5 separate regions of the Homo sapiens genome follow, and regions 2, 3, 4 and 5 are each linked to region 1. The links are contacts of gene promoters, found by promoter capture Hi-C in blood cells and fetal thymus (Javierre and others, 2016). All regions are on one chromosome and are shown on one strand. Each heading gives the region's core, a stretch centred on a gene start or on the middle of the fragment in contact. The rest is flanking DNA. Distances are from core to core; before and after follow the strand shown. Region 1 holds the start of FOXL2 (forkhead box L2). Region 2 overlaps MRAS (muscle RAS oncogene homolog). Region 3 overlaps LOC124909438 (a long non-coding RNA gene). Region 4 overlaps MRAS (muscle RAS oncogene homolog). Region 5 holds the start of ESYT3 (extended synaptotagmin 3).

What was found. Contacts are between HindIII fragments. The CHiCAGO score rates a contact against its expected background, and 5 or more counts as called.
Region 2: a contact is called between a fragment that was not itself captured here and the fragment with the promoter of FOXL2 in region 1, in 1 of 17 cell types (megakaryocytes). The highest score is 5.0, in megakaryocytes.
Region 3: a fragment that was not itself captured here is called in contact with the fragment with the promoter of FOXL2 in region 1 in 1 of 17 cell types (erythroblasts); the score reaches 5.7 in erythroblasts.
Region 4: a fragment that was not itself captured here is called in contact with the fragment with the promoter of FOXL2 in region 1 in 1 of 17 cell types (fetal thymus); the score reaches 5.1 in fetal thymus.
Region 5: a contact is called between the fragment with the promoter of ESYT3 here and the fragment with the promoter of FOXL2 in region 1, in 6 of 17 cell types (megakaryocytes, erythroblasts, fetal thymus and 3 more). The highest score is 10.5, in megakaryocytes.

The regions. Positions count from the first base shown.
Region 1 is chr3:138,945,886-138,948,585 of GRCh38, reverse strand. It overlaps FOXL2 (forkhead box L2), which reads left to right and starts at 1,449. Exons shown (of 1, transcript NM_023067.4): 1 at 1,449-2,700. The coding sequence starts at 1,864. FOXL2NB (FOXL2 neighbor) reads right to left here and starts at 1,369. Exons shown (of 3, transcript NM_001040061.3): 1 at 1,122-1,369. The coding sequence starts at 1,221. RefSeq lists a silencer at 1,205-1,433. The HindIII fragment of the contact is 4,318 bases long and covers 1-2,700 here.
Region 2 is chr3:138,359,220-138,361,919 of GRCh38, reverse strand. All of the region lies in intron 1 of MRAS (muscle RAS oncogene homolog), which reads right to left. Among named protein-coding and RNA genes, the nearest start is that of MRAS, 12 kb to the right of the region's middle. RefSeq lists an enhancer at 996-1,830. The HindIII fragment of the contact is 3,177 bases long and covers 1-2,700 here.
Region 3 is chr3:138,333,932-138,336,631 of GRCh38, reverse strand. The region is part of intron 1 of LOC124909438 (a long non-coding RNA gene); the gene reads right to left. Among named protein-coding and RNA genes, the nearest start is that of NME9, 5.4 kb to the right of the region's middle. The HindIII fragment of the contact is 234 bases long and covers 1,314-1,547 here.
Region 4 is chr3:138,379,146-138,381,845 of GRCh38, reverse strand. The region is part of intron 2 of MRAS (muscle RAS oncogene homolog); the gene reads right to left. Among named protein-coding and RNA genes, the nearest start is that of MRAS, 32 kb to the right of the region's middle. The HindIII fragment of the contact is 6,595 bases long and covers 1-2,700 here.
Region 5 is chr3:138,433,337-138,436,149 of GRCh38, reverse strand. It overlaps ESYT3 (extended synaptotagmin 3), which reads right to left and starts at 1,534. Exons shown (of 23, transcript NM_031913.5): 1 at 1,025-1,534. The coding sequence starts at 1,351. The HindIII fragment of the contact is 865 bases long and covers 1,117-1,981 here.

The DNA of each region.
Region 1 (2,700 bases), core at 200-2,699:
ATGACATCCATTCAGTCCACCTTCCTCCATAAGGTGGCCTTGCCCCCCTCCTCAGCACCAAGGAGTTTGGGGCTTGAGGATTCAAAACACTGGCCATCTCTCTCATACTTTATGACTGCAGACTTTTTGTTTAGGCCAAGTTAAAAGGCACTGTTAAGGAGCACACTGTTAAAAGGCACACCTGATTTTCCCTGAAACAATCTCTGTACATGCTGAAATAATTGGATTCCCATCAGAATTCTGCTTAAGGTAGGTGACAACTAACTCCTGATTCTTTGGAGAAAGATCAGAACAAATGTCTCATCAGGAGAGAGATTTGAACAAGTCCCTCCCTCAGCCTGATGTTTGTCTTCCCAGTCTGTGGCAAAATACATACACTGGGAGGGAAAGAGGCATCGAAGAATTGTGAAAGAAAGGAAGAAAGGGGGGAAGGAAAGAAGTAAGAAAGGAGAAAAAGAGAAGATGCTATATCCACCAGCTACATTTACTCTAATACTTGATGAACATATTACATAACTATCAGTATAAGTGTGTTTTACCTCGTAAATACAAATCTCACACCTTGTACATGTGCATACCTGTGTTTCTGAGCAGCACACATGCACCTGGTATCTCACCCATCTCAAGGACAGCTCCTCTCCATGACTTCCATATGTGACCCCTGTGCACACACATACACAGTCCCGCAAAGTCCCGGGCAACAGCCCCGCCTGTGTTAGTGCAATAGCTGAGGGGCATCTACTTGGTGCTGTTAAAGCACACATCCAACCTTCACTCCAACCCCGTAGGATTAGTACACGGATTCCTGGTTCCTAGATCCACTGGTAACGCAGGGAGAGGCAGAGGTGATTCAGGCGGCGCCCCTGACGACTATTTCCAGAGATCCTCTCCCCTGCCCCATTCCAGCCCAGTCACTCTGAGAGCGCGAGGGACAGGCCAGGCCGAGGCTTCTTCGTACAGTCACACCCGTTTCTGGGCTGACTTTCCCAAAGCCTCAGAGCAGCTCTCCCCACCCTACCCCGTCCAGCCCCCTCGCCGTCTCGCCCCTCCCCAGCCCCGAGCTAGAAGTTCAGCCTCAAGACGGCAGCAAACGGCAGAGCAAAGGAGTCGTTTTCTTTCACCTGAAAGCCGCGAGGAGGCTTGGAGCGCCTTTCCTCGCTGGGGCCCGAGCTTCCTGGGCTTTGGCCGGGTGCGGGCAGACCCCACCGGGGTCCTCGTCATCTCCCAGCCCAGCCCGCAGAGCGAGTACCGGCAGATTTCAAGGGCGCGTGAGCCTGGCTGTCGGCTGGGCCCCTGAGGCTCGCTGGGCGGGGGCAGGCCGGTCCAGGCTGTGCGGGGCGTTTACAAAAAGTGACTTGGAGATGAACTCGCCCGTGCGCGGCTGGCCGCCCCGCTATAGGGGCGAAGGCGCCTGACGCAAGCGGAACTCGGTGGAGCCCATACGAATCAGAACAGAGCGAGGCTCCTGGCGCACTAGGGACTCCAGGAGGCAGCTCCGCCAGAGACGCGGGTCGTGCTTCGGGAAACCGGGGGGCGGGGGGAGGGGAAGAGCGCAGAAAAGAAAACCCACCAAGGCGGGGACTGGCCTGAGCGGGGAGGGGCGGCGAGGCCGGAGCCCCTCTCTGTTGGGCGGACTCCCCATGGCCAGAGGCTGAGCTCCACTCCCGCCGGCCGCTCCCTAGGGGAAGGGGAAGGAGAGGGGAGAGCAGCGACAGGCCTCCAGCAAGCAAGCGCGGGCGGCATCCGCAGTCTCCAGAAGTTTGAGACTTGGCCGTAAGCGGACTCGTGCGCCCCAACTCTTTGCCGCGCCAGCGCCTGGAGCGGAGAGCAGAGGCGGCCCGGCCGCGGCGCGCCGGCTTTGTCATGATGGCCAGCTACCCCGAGCCCGAGGACGCGGCGGGGGCCCTGCTGGCCCCAGAGACCGGTCGCACAGTCAAGGAGCCAGAAGGGCCGCCGCCGAGCCCAGGCAAGGGCGGTGGGGGTGGCGGCGGGACAGCCCCGGAGAAGCCGGACCCGGCGCAGAAGCCCCCGTACTCGTACGTGGCGCTCATCGCCATGGCGATCCGCGAGAGCGCGGAGAAGAGGCTCACGCTGTCCGGCATCTACCAGTACATCATCGCGAAGTTCCCGTTCTACGAGAAGAATAAGAAGGGCTGGCAAAATAGCATCCGCCACAACCTCAGCCTCAACGAGTGCTTCATCAAGGTGCCGCGCGAGGGCGGCGGCGAGCGCAAGGGCAACTACTGGACGCTGGACCCGGCCTGCGAAGACATGTTCGAGAAGGGCAACTACCGGCGCCGCCGCCGCATGAAGAGGCCCTTCCGGCCGCCGCCCGCGCACTTCCAGCCCGGCAAGGGGCTCTTCGGGGCCGGAGGCGCCGCAGGCGGGTGCGGCGTGGCGGGCGCCGGGGCCGACGGCTACGGCTACCTGGCGCCCCCCAAGTACCTGCAGTCTGGCTTCCTCAACAACTCGTGGCCGCTACCGCAGCCTCCCTCACCCATGCCCTATGCCTCCTGCCAGATGGCGGCAGCCGCAGCGGCTGCAGCAGCTGCGGCTGCAGCCGCGGGCCCCGGTAGCCCTGGCGCGGCCGCTGTGGTCAAGGGGCTGGCGGGCCCGGCCGCCTCGTACGGGCCGTACACACGCGTGCAGAGCATGGCGCTGCCCCCCGGCGTAGTGAACTCGTACAATGGCCTGGGAGGC
Region 2 (2,700 bases), core at 11-2,510, 590 kb after region 1:
TTTTTCAATCCTTGTTCTCAGTCCCTGGGGGTCTATTAATATTTTCCTAGCACTGGGGCAGTCTCACCCGCAGTGAAAGAGGAGGACTCCTGCAGCCTTCCATAGGAATCTGCGTGCAATTGGGAACGTCATGCTGGTGGTCACTCAACCAGGGAAGGCCAGCCTCTGCACACTCTGGGGTTCCCCAGACTGAGCGCCCTTGGCCTCCCCAGAGCCTGGCAGGCTGCTGTCCTCCCAGCCCTGCTCTGACTCCGCTTTGCCCTCTGCTCACAGAGCCCCGCACCTCCTCACTGTTCTGCTCCGCTGCTCAGGCTCAACCCTGCACAAACTGGATTCAGCCAGCACCTCCCTCACCTGCCCAAGGGTGGGCCCCTTTGCCCACCTCTCTGCCCCAAATTCTCTTCCTTTTTCTCCCTTGGCAGTGCAAACAGCCCTTTACCCACATCCCAGGCCAAGGCCTAGCAAGGCTGTCCACCACTGTGGCCCATGTCTGCCCCCGGCCTGAGCAACCACCACTAGCATTGTCCCACCCACCACTCCAGCATTATCACTCCCCAACTAACCCAAGCACAGAGTCTCCTGGAATGCCATCCATGAAGCTCTCCCCGCTGACCACAACATTCTAGGCCTTTCTTGAGCTGCCCAAGTGCCCCCTTCCCCTCGCATGGCCTCTGCTCTGCTGATTCCTGGTCTGGTGTCCTCAAGGACAGGGATGGTACCCAAGTGTCAGGTCCTATCCCCCAGAAACGATTCCTTCCTCTAAGGCCCTCTTCTATCCCCCAAGGTCTCCTTCCACTGAGCCACCTTGCTTCCATCTATGGAATGCCAACCAGGTGGCAGGTGGCAGCGCAAGTGCTCCGCAGCCATTATTCCATGTGATGACTCAAGACGCTTCACCAAGAGGCATTGTTTAGCCCCTTCAGGAACCGTGAAGGTCAGAGAGGCTCTGTGGTTTGTCCAAGGCCATATCTCTGACCTGAAAGCTCGGCATGCCCCTCTTCATCTGCCCTCAAATCTAGGAGCTGGGTGTTACTTCACAGTCACATTCCTCTGCTAGTGGGACAGTGGACAAAGGGCCAGGCCTTGTCTTCTTTTTCTCTGGGCATCCCAGAGCCCTGGCACAGCTTTCTGCTCAGAGACGCTCCAACGTGTCTGCTGTCTGCATTTCCAAATGCAGGAGTGATACTGGCAGCTGGCTGGGAGTCTGGCTTGGGTAGACAGTAGGACAGAGGTGATGTGGGCACTATGCCATGGGCCACACAGGACCTAGAGGACTGCAGTGGCAGGCCTCACGAAGGACATACCATGTGAGGAGTCCCACTGGACACCCGTGGGCACCAGCCCAGCAGGAGGAGTGGCGATGAGGGGTCCTTCCTTGCTGTCCAAATTCCCAAAGCACTGAGACCCCACCAGCACCCAGGGCATGGCCCCCTGACTGGCCCTGCCTTCTGAGCTGGGGATGCCACACCCAGCCCCCAGAGTACAGCTAAGGTTGTCCCTTAACTCCTTAGCTGTCCCAGCCCAGAACTGCTCATCTCATGGAATCACGGTGTTCCGCCAGTTCAATCTGGTAAGCCCAGGAGAAGAGCAGGGTGGCAACAGAGAGGGAACGGAAGGCCCGGATCCCAGGGCCAGGCATCCCTCTGCATCTCACAGGCCCCTGCCTGAGAGACGGATGCTTTCTGACTGATCCCCCCATCTCAACTGCTTTGCCCTGCAGTAGCAGCAAGAGGGAATCAAGAACAAAACGGACATCCCAAAGTCACGTGCACGTGCCGGCAGAGGCTGTGTCAATAAGTGATAGAAGGGGATAGGTACAGGCAACAGGGAGCAGTGGGGCCTGTGCAAACAGGAGATTACTGACACCCCGCACCAGCTGACTGCTGCAACATAATATCTGCAATGAGCTTGCCAGATAGTCTAAATTTTTAAAGAATAGCCAGCAATCTGAGTCTATGCAAAAACTCAGATTTCTGGCTATTTTATTATTTTAAATACTGGCCACCAATGAAAAAGTTTTACACATTGTGTAACCCAAATAAATCAACACTCTGTACCCATCCTTCTTGAGCACACACACATCTGAGTGGCACGGCCGTTCTAAGGCAGACAACTCTTCGCACTGCCTTGGCTTGGCCTGGCTTTGGTGCAAGGAGGTGTGAGATCAAAGGAAATGATCTCACTGAAGAGAGCAGCAGCAGGGGTTACTTGGCCTGCAGGACATGGGCCAGCCTGGCATTCTTCAGGGACAGGCACACAGCCCACCCCAGGAGTATGTCAGAGCCCAGAGAGGTGGAGGCCAAAAAGGCACATTCAAAAAAGGCTGCTGCTTTGCTGTGTTTTCATTATTTATATTTAAGATGTTAGACACCATTAATGAAGAATGTGAAAATGTTTATGCTTGACCAAAAATAAGAAAGACATAGGGTCTAGGTTCTTCCTTGAGGTGGGGAGAGGCAATTCAACCTTCATTTTTAAAGAGTAACCAGACTGCAGAGAGACGGACTGAAGCCAAATAAAAGGGAAACTTCCTGAAAACGAGGCAGGCATGGCAATGAGTGTGAGATTTTCCTCTGCAAAGGTCTGTGAAGCAGATGCGGAGGAAGAAGGACTGGCCACCTAGCTTTGGAGTGGTGAACCAGGCTGGAGGTGGGTGTGACGGCTTCTCAGGGACCCTTCCAATCCCAGGGTTTTAAGCCC
Region 3 (2,700 bases), core at 181-2,680, 610 kb after region 1:
TGGTCAAACCAATCCCCTAGGCCCTATGTAAATCAATTACTGCCTCCTCAATCCTCTTTACAAAACTGATCGCATTCCACCCCAAACCAAAGACCCCCTCTTGGGTGACCCGCTTTCTCAGTATGAGGAAGTTCTCTTTCTCCTCTTCTTTGTCTATTAAACTTTCCACTCCTAAACCCACTTCTCATGAGTGTCGGTGTCCTGAACTCTTTCTTGGCGTGAGACAAAGAACCACAGGTAAATCCTGAGACAACGGAGCTGTTTCACCAGCACTTTGGGAGGCCAAGGTGGGAGGATTGCTTGAGCCCAGGAGTTTGAGACTAGCCTGGACAACACAGCAAGACCCTGTCTCTACAAAAAATTTAAAAATTAGCTGGGAATGGTGTCATTTGCCTGTAGTCTCAGCTACTTGGGAGGCTGAGGTGAAAGGATTGCTTGAGTCCTGGAGTTTGAGGCTCAGTGAGCAATGATGATTGGGCCACTGCACTCCAGCCTGGGTGACAGAGTGAGACCTCAAAAAAAAAAAAAAAAAAAGCAGCAGCAGCTTAGGTAAGAGCCATTCCCTGCCACATGAACAATGTGGCCTCTCAACAGGAGATAGTCACAATGACATTCTGCCACCCATAGCCTGGGGCCAGCTTCCTGAGCATCTCTCAGTAACCGAGCCCCAGTTTGTAAAACAATGGAAAAATGATCTTCATTTGTGGTCACATGTTTTCATGAGTTTTAGTACTTGAAATATTGTAATACCAAGTCAAAGAAAAAAATTGCCTGGATGCTGAATTTGAAATGCAGGGCTTGCTTGCTCTAATTTAGCCCAATTTTCTGAAATCCAGTAGCATCATCCAGTAGCATCACGTCAAATGTCTTGACAAACAAGACAGTTAGAAAACACTTTTAAAATCCCTGATGGCTAGAATTTTAAAGTGTTATTTTTACATTAAAACAAATACGGATGTGGTATGTTGTATTCCATAAAATGCACACAAATCTTTGAGTTAAATATTAGTGATGTTTAGAGATCTCTAAATGCTTAAGGCCTTTTAGCATTAAGCCCTCAAATCTCCAGGGCAGCCATTCAGGAAACTTTGGGTGAAACACTGGAGGAGTGTGGTCCTCGATAATGAGGTCTTTGTAGCTTGACTGAAATCTAGCTCTGCCTCAAAAGTTTCAAGTGTATGGGCAAGGAGTTCTAATGGGAGGTTGGAAGAGCATGCTCTCTAGGAGGCTCAACAATCAAGGGCAAAGTTCATTACCTCTAGGGAGGTGTCAAGAACTGTAAATCATCTGAGATTTTACCCTCCTTGCAAGCTTACAAGTTATTCTTCCATAATCATGGATGCTGAAAGAACATATAAGTCGCTCCTGGGTCAGAGATGAAGGATAGTTTATTATTCAAAGCAATAGCAATAACCAAAGTATTAGCATTTTTGCATAGGTTTCCTGAACTGATTCCCATAGGACAATGCAGAGAGGGCCAGGTGACACCTGCACATGCAGCAGGTTGTGTTATAGGAGAAGAATCCTAGCTTCAAGAAACCAAAGCTTTTACACTGAAGAGTTAAGTATGCTTTCTACAGAAGGAGACATTATCTCTAACTTCCAAGGCTGTAAACAAACCTTTCCTTTGCTTTAGAAGGAGATACTACCTCTATCTTTCAAGGTTGTTCACTATATAAACATTCCTGGAAAGGCTGTTGGGAATAAAGCAGTCAGTGCCTCTGCTTGAAAAATATGCAGATGCATGAGAGACCCATGGAGAAACATCGGTCAACAGGAGGGACCTATGGTCAGCTTCCTCTACAACATGTAGAAGTCTCCTTGTCATCTCCTCTGACTTCTCAGTAAGCATGAATGGTGGGCAGCATAGGGCTCATTCGTTCAGGTCATGATGGAAACCTGAGGTTCATTAAAAAAGATTCACTAGGAAGTAGCTGGGACAACCTGCCCTACAGGGACTCACAATACAGATGAGCAGTTTGATTGTAACCCCCAATGACTACTACGACACGAAGAAAATGCAACACAGTCCAAGGCAGGTTGTTAGGCTCAGACTAGCTGCTTCCATTTTATGGCTCACTATCTTGTGTTTTCAAAGTTACCCTCACAATCAACAAAGAAACTACCAGCACTAATAAGTGAGTTTAGCAAGATCTCAGAATACAAAGTCAATATACAAAAAATCAGTTGTATTTCTATGTACTGGCAGCACAAAATTGGCAATAAATTTTGAAAGTCAATTTCATTAATAATAGCATAATGAATACAAATGACTTGCAAGATTGGTTTAACAACTATAAAACATTGCTGAAGTTAAAGAATAAATGGAACACACATCCTATTTATGGACTGGAGGACTCCGCATTATTAAGATGTCAATTCTTCCCAAGTCAATCTTTAGGTTTAATGCAATTTAATCAAATTTTCAAGAGGATTTTTAAAGACAGACATATTAACAGATTGACTCTAGGATTTGTATGAAAGTAAAAGAACTTAAAATAGACAAATAATTTTGAAAAAGAAAAACAAGGTTGGATGACTTAGATTACCTGATTTTAAGACTTACTATACAACTAGTAATCAAGTACTGGTATAAGGATGGTCAACTAGATCAGCGGAATAGACTAGAGAATCCTGAAGGAAACTCACACTTACATGGCCAGTTGGTTTTTGACAAAGACACCAAATCAATCCAGTGAA
Region 4 (2,700 bases), core at 112-2,611, 570 kb after region 1:
AGTGTGTGGGGGAAAAGCCAGGTTCAGGCCCCTCTGAGAAGACAACAGCACTTGTGTCTGAGGTTTGGGCAGAAGCCAGGGTGGAAATGTCCCAGCTTCTGATGGTGCAGGAGAAGAGCCAGGCTTTTGCTCTTTGAAAACACTGGGCACTTGCTGGGGAGTCGGAGACAGAGAGGTTGCGGAGCTGGGCCCAAGAACCCCAAGGTAGGAAGCAGTGTCTGGAGACTCAGGGCCCACTGCTGTTCTCCACCGATGGAAGAAAGATGCAAAGTTCCAGAGGCTGGCTGGGCAGAGGGCGGGGCTGGGAGCCAGAGGGTGGGGAGGCCCAGAGACATCTGCCCTGTTGTAAGTGAGGAGAGGATTTGGTCAGCATCCCACCTTAAAGGCCCAAGGCCTGGGCCAAAGCAGGAGGTAGTGGGACAGGGTGGAGGACACGCTCGGCAGAGTCAAGAAGCCCAAAACCTGGCTCTCCAGCTAGCTAGGTCTCACCCTAGACTAGTGACCTCTCCATCTGTACCTCAGTTTCCACAATTGTAAAGTGAGGGGCTTAGCAGCCTTCCATCCCTAACCAACAGAAAAAATAGGCACACAAGAACTCTAAGACGAAAGAAGGAAAGCAGGGACTCAGATATTTATATACCATGCTCATAGCAGCGTTATTCATAACAGCAAAAAGGTGGAAACCACCCAAGTGTCCATCCACAGATGAACAGATAATGAAAACATGGTACATCCATACAGTGGAATATCATTCAGCTTTAAAACGGAGAGAAGGCCGGGCGTGGCGGCTCATGCCTGTAAACCCAACACTTTGGGAGGCCGAGGCGGGTGGATCACGAGGTCAAGAGATTGAGACCATGCTGGCCAGCATGGTGAAAATGCTACCAGTCTCTACTAAAAATACAAAAATTAGCTGGGTGTGGTGGCACGTGCCTATAGTCCCAGCTACTCGGAAGACTGAGGCAGGAGAATCACTTGAACCCGGGAGGCGGAGGCTGCAGTGAGCCGAGATCACACCACTGCACTCCAGCCTGGCGACAGAGCGAGACACCGTCTCAAAAAAAAAAGAAAAAAAAAGGAAAGAAATTCAGAACATGCAGCAACATGGATGAACCTTGAATAGATTGTACTAATTAAAATAAGCCAGCCACATAAAAGGACAAATATTATTCCACTTATCATAGCACTCAAATGAGGTATCTAGATTAGTTAAATACATAGAGACAGAAAGTAGAAGCCGGGCGCGGTGGCTCACGCCTATAATCCCAGCACTTTAGGAGGCCGAGGTGGGTGGATCACCTGAGGCCAGGAGTTCGAGATCAGCCTGGCCAACACGGAAACCCCATCCCTACTAAAAATACAAAAATTAGCCAGGCGTGGTGGTGCACGCCTGTAATCCCAGCTCCTCAGGAGGGTGAGGCAGGATAATCACTTGAACTCAGAAAGCGGAGGTTGCAGTGAACCGAGATCGCACCACTGCATTCCGGCCTGGGTGACAGAGTGAGACCTCATTTCAGAAAAAAAAAAGAAAGTAGAATGGTGGTTGCCAAGGACTGAGGAGAGGGGAAAATGGGGACTTAGTGTTTAAGGGGCAAGGGATTAATAACCTGAATATATAAGAAACTCAAACAACTCATTAGCAAAATAAAATAAAATTCTGATTTAAAGGGCAAAAGACCTGAATAGGCATTTCTCAGAGACAAACAAATGGATAGCAGGTATATGAAAAAATTATCAACATCGCTAATCATCAGAGAAATGCAAATCAAAACTACAATGAAATGCAAATCAAAACTACAATGAGATAACATCTCACCCCAGTTACAATGGCTATTATCAAAAAGACAAAAAATAACAAATGCTAGGGAAGATGTGGAGAAAAGAGAATGTTTGGATACTGCTGGTGGGAATATAAACTAGTATAGCCACTATGGAAAATGGTATGGAGATCCCTCAAAAAACTAAAAATAGAGCTACCATATGGTCCAGCAATCCTACTGCTGAGTATACACTCAAAGGAAAGGAAATCAGTATATTGAAGTGATACCTGCACTCCCATGTTTATCATAGCGCTAGTCACAATAGCCAAGAGTAAGGAAGCAACCTAAGTGCCTTTCAATGAATGAATGATAAAGAAAATGTAGCATATATACACAATAGAATATTATTCATCCATAACAAAGAATGAGGCTGGGCGCAGTGGCTCATGCCTGTAATGCCAGCACTTTGGGAGGCCGAGGTGGGCAGATCACCTGAGGTCAGGAGTTCGAGACCAACCTAGCCAAGATGGTGAAACCCCATCTCTACTAAAAATACAAAAATTAGCCGAGCGTGTTGGCAGGTGCCTGTAATTTCAGCTACTTGGGAGGCTTAGGCAGGAGAATTGCTTGAACCCGGGAGGGGGAGGTTGCAGTGATCGTGCCACTGAACTCTAGTCTGCCCAACAAGTGTGAGACTCCGTCTCAAAAAAAAAAAAAAAAAAAAAAAAGACATTCTGTCATTTGCAGCAACATGGATGGAACTGGAGGTCATTATGTTAAGTGAAACAAGCCAGGCACAGAAAGACAAATATTGCATGCTCTCACTGATATGTGGGAGCTAAAACAGTGGATTTCATGGAGGTAGAGAGTGGAATGATTGACATCAAAGGCTGGGAAGGGTGTGTGGGTGGGGGGATGAAGAGAAGTTGGTTAATGGGTA
Region 5 (2,813 bases), core at 285-2,784, 510 kb after region 1:
TCATTTCTCTTATAAGATAAACTAAATGGGCCTTATATTTTTTTCTCACACCTCACTTTACAGACTACTGTCAGGAGGAACCTATGGCCCTGCTGGACTTTATAGGCCACAGGCTAGAGACAGTGAGGGGTCTGGCGACCTCCCCCGTGGGCCTGAGAGTAACTGGAAGAAATCTGAAAACGAAGAGCCCCAGCACCGGAGAGACAGTAAGGGTTTGCCGCAGACCAACCATTGGACGGAACACCCCTCTTGCCGGTGTTTCCCAAGCTCACCTAATCATAAGAATCACCCAGGATACCTCTGTGCCACCCTGGGAGTTATGCAATGGGGCCCAGAACTTGGGTTTTGTTAGGTAAGCCAGGACCAGAAGCGTTTGAGGAATCGTAGTGCCGCCCATGCCGCCCCAGGAGATGGGTTTGTCGGGGCAGTGTGCGTGTGCCGGCATCCCTATCCGGCGGAGGGAGGGAGGGAAGGAGGCCCGGGGCCCGGCGCCGTCGGTCTCCCAGCCGTACCCGCCACTCCACCTCCAGCCCCGCGGAGCCCTCCCCCTACCGCAGTCCAGGCCTCGGCCGAAAGCAACTGGGCCCGCCGTTTCTGTCACTGCGGTATTTGCCCATCTACGTTTTGCGTCCGGCGTTCGTTCTCTGAATCAACAGGCGGGTGGAAGAAATGCCTTCTGATTCCAACCCGAGTAAGTCTGCGAAGTCCCAGACGCCCTTGTTTTTCTCCCGGGTGTGGTCTGCCCGTGACTCTTCTCTCGAGCTCTGGGGCCTTAAATGAAACCCAAGTTCCCCACTCCCACCGCAGTCGGACCAGAGGTGGACGTGAGGGTGCTGCGCGCCGCGGGAGGGGCGGTCACCGTCCCCAGGGTCTGCGCCCCGGGAGCGGTGGGGAACGGGGTGTGCAGGTCGCCGGGCTCCCGCCCTGCCTCGGGTTTGCGCGCACCAGCTCCCCGCTGACCGCAAGTTCCTCCGAACCTCGAAAGGCATCTCCCCACCTCCCACTCCCACCCGGCTTGGCTCACCCAGGCTGGCAGGTGCTGGCCCCGCAGCTCGCGGCTGATGAACTCGCGTTCATTGTCAAGGAATTCGAAGGCGGCGGCCAGGCGCCCAAGCTTCCCGCGGCGGTTCCTGCGCCACCACATCCACAGCAGGGCGCCGAGCAGCAACCAGGTTATGCTGAGCCCCAGGTAGCCAGCTAGGTAGACAGGCCCCAGGTAGAACAGCACGCGCACCACGAAGGTACAGAGCTCGGGCAGCAGCTGGCTGGACAGGCGCAGCTCGGGGCCCGGCGTGCGCTGGGCTCCCAGGGCGCTGGGGGCCCCGGGGGCGCAGGGCTCCTCTGCTCGCATCTCGTCGCCGCAGTCTTGCCCTTCCCGAGAGCTTCACCCGAGCTTAGGTCCGCATGCCCCCACGCCCATGCGCATCTGTCTCCCAAGCTCGAGGACCAGGACGCCGCGCCCCCTTGCCCTGCTGGGACTCTCGGCGCGCCGAGCTCAGGGTTCTCTGCGACGGAGAGCAGCGCCTGGAAATGCACCGCGCCGCGCCGCGCCGCCCCAGTTCTCGGCTCCAGTGAGTCCGCAGCTCCGGAAGTCTCCGCCCTAGAGGGGCGGGCCGCCCGCCTGGCTCCTGCCCGCTCTAAAGAGCAACCAGCCGGTGAGCTCGGCCTCCGACCCCAGCACGTGGCGCAGGCGTCAGCCGGAGGTGTGCACTCGCCAGTCCGGGTGGACCAAGTGCTGCCCTAGGTGGTTAATGACTCACCAACACCTGTGTACAACTGGCTTATCATGGATAAACATCACCTAAAACCTGTTTCCTACACGCGGTCTATAATACACAGTATAGTCTGGACTCAGCTGGCATTCGAGGCCCTCCCTGGACAGGCTCAGCCAGGCCTCCCCAGCCTCAGGTCCTGCGTCCCGGCCCTCCAACTGGCCCCTAGAGCCTGCAACGCTGCCAGCTCCTCTGGCATCTGTAAAGCTTGGACCTAGCCCCCAGCCTCACCAAGCCGAGCTCAGGGCCCCTCCTGCGCGCCACAAAACCCTCTGCCCCTCTCTCCCCATCCTCTCTTCTAGGTGTCTGTTTGGATCGTCATTCCCTGCATCATCAGACGGGGAACTTCCGGGGACCGGCCCGTCTTGGCCATCTGTGGGGCGCCCAACAAGGGCAAGCGACCGGCGAATAAAAGGAAAGATGAAGAGGAAGCCCCGAGGTGCCTGAGAGTCAATGGTGAAGCCCATGGTTTCTAACCCTTTAATGATCAGAGCAGGTGGAGCTCCGAATCTCTTAAGTTCGGATAGTAAATCGTCTTGCGGATAGCATATATTTCAGACGGCCACATGAAAGGGCTCACATCAATTACTGGAATGTGATTTTGGAGTTGACAAATGTACCAGAGTGATTTGGAATGACTCTACTGTTTCAACAGCTTTATCGAAAGGCTGGAGCCGATGGATAGCAATCAAAATATTCTCTTTCCTTTTCTCTCTCTCCCTCCCTCCCCCCTCCCCACCCCGCCCCGGTCTCCCGTTCTCGTTCTGACTCTTGCTCTGTCACTCTCTTTTTCTCTCTCTGGCTTTATCCTCTCTCTTGGATAAAATTACTTACTGCAATGAGTTTTTTCAACAATACGTGAGTTCCTGGTGGTCAGAATACCTGGACCCTTCTCTATTGTTCTTGGCTTTCCAGGACTCAGCCAAAACAGAGGCTTAAAGTCCCCCAACTTAACATTCTCCCAGTGTAGCCTGGGAAATCAACGGAAGAAATGCTGCTCGCTGGAGTTCCTTCTTGAGAGTTGCATGTACACAGTCCTAG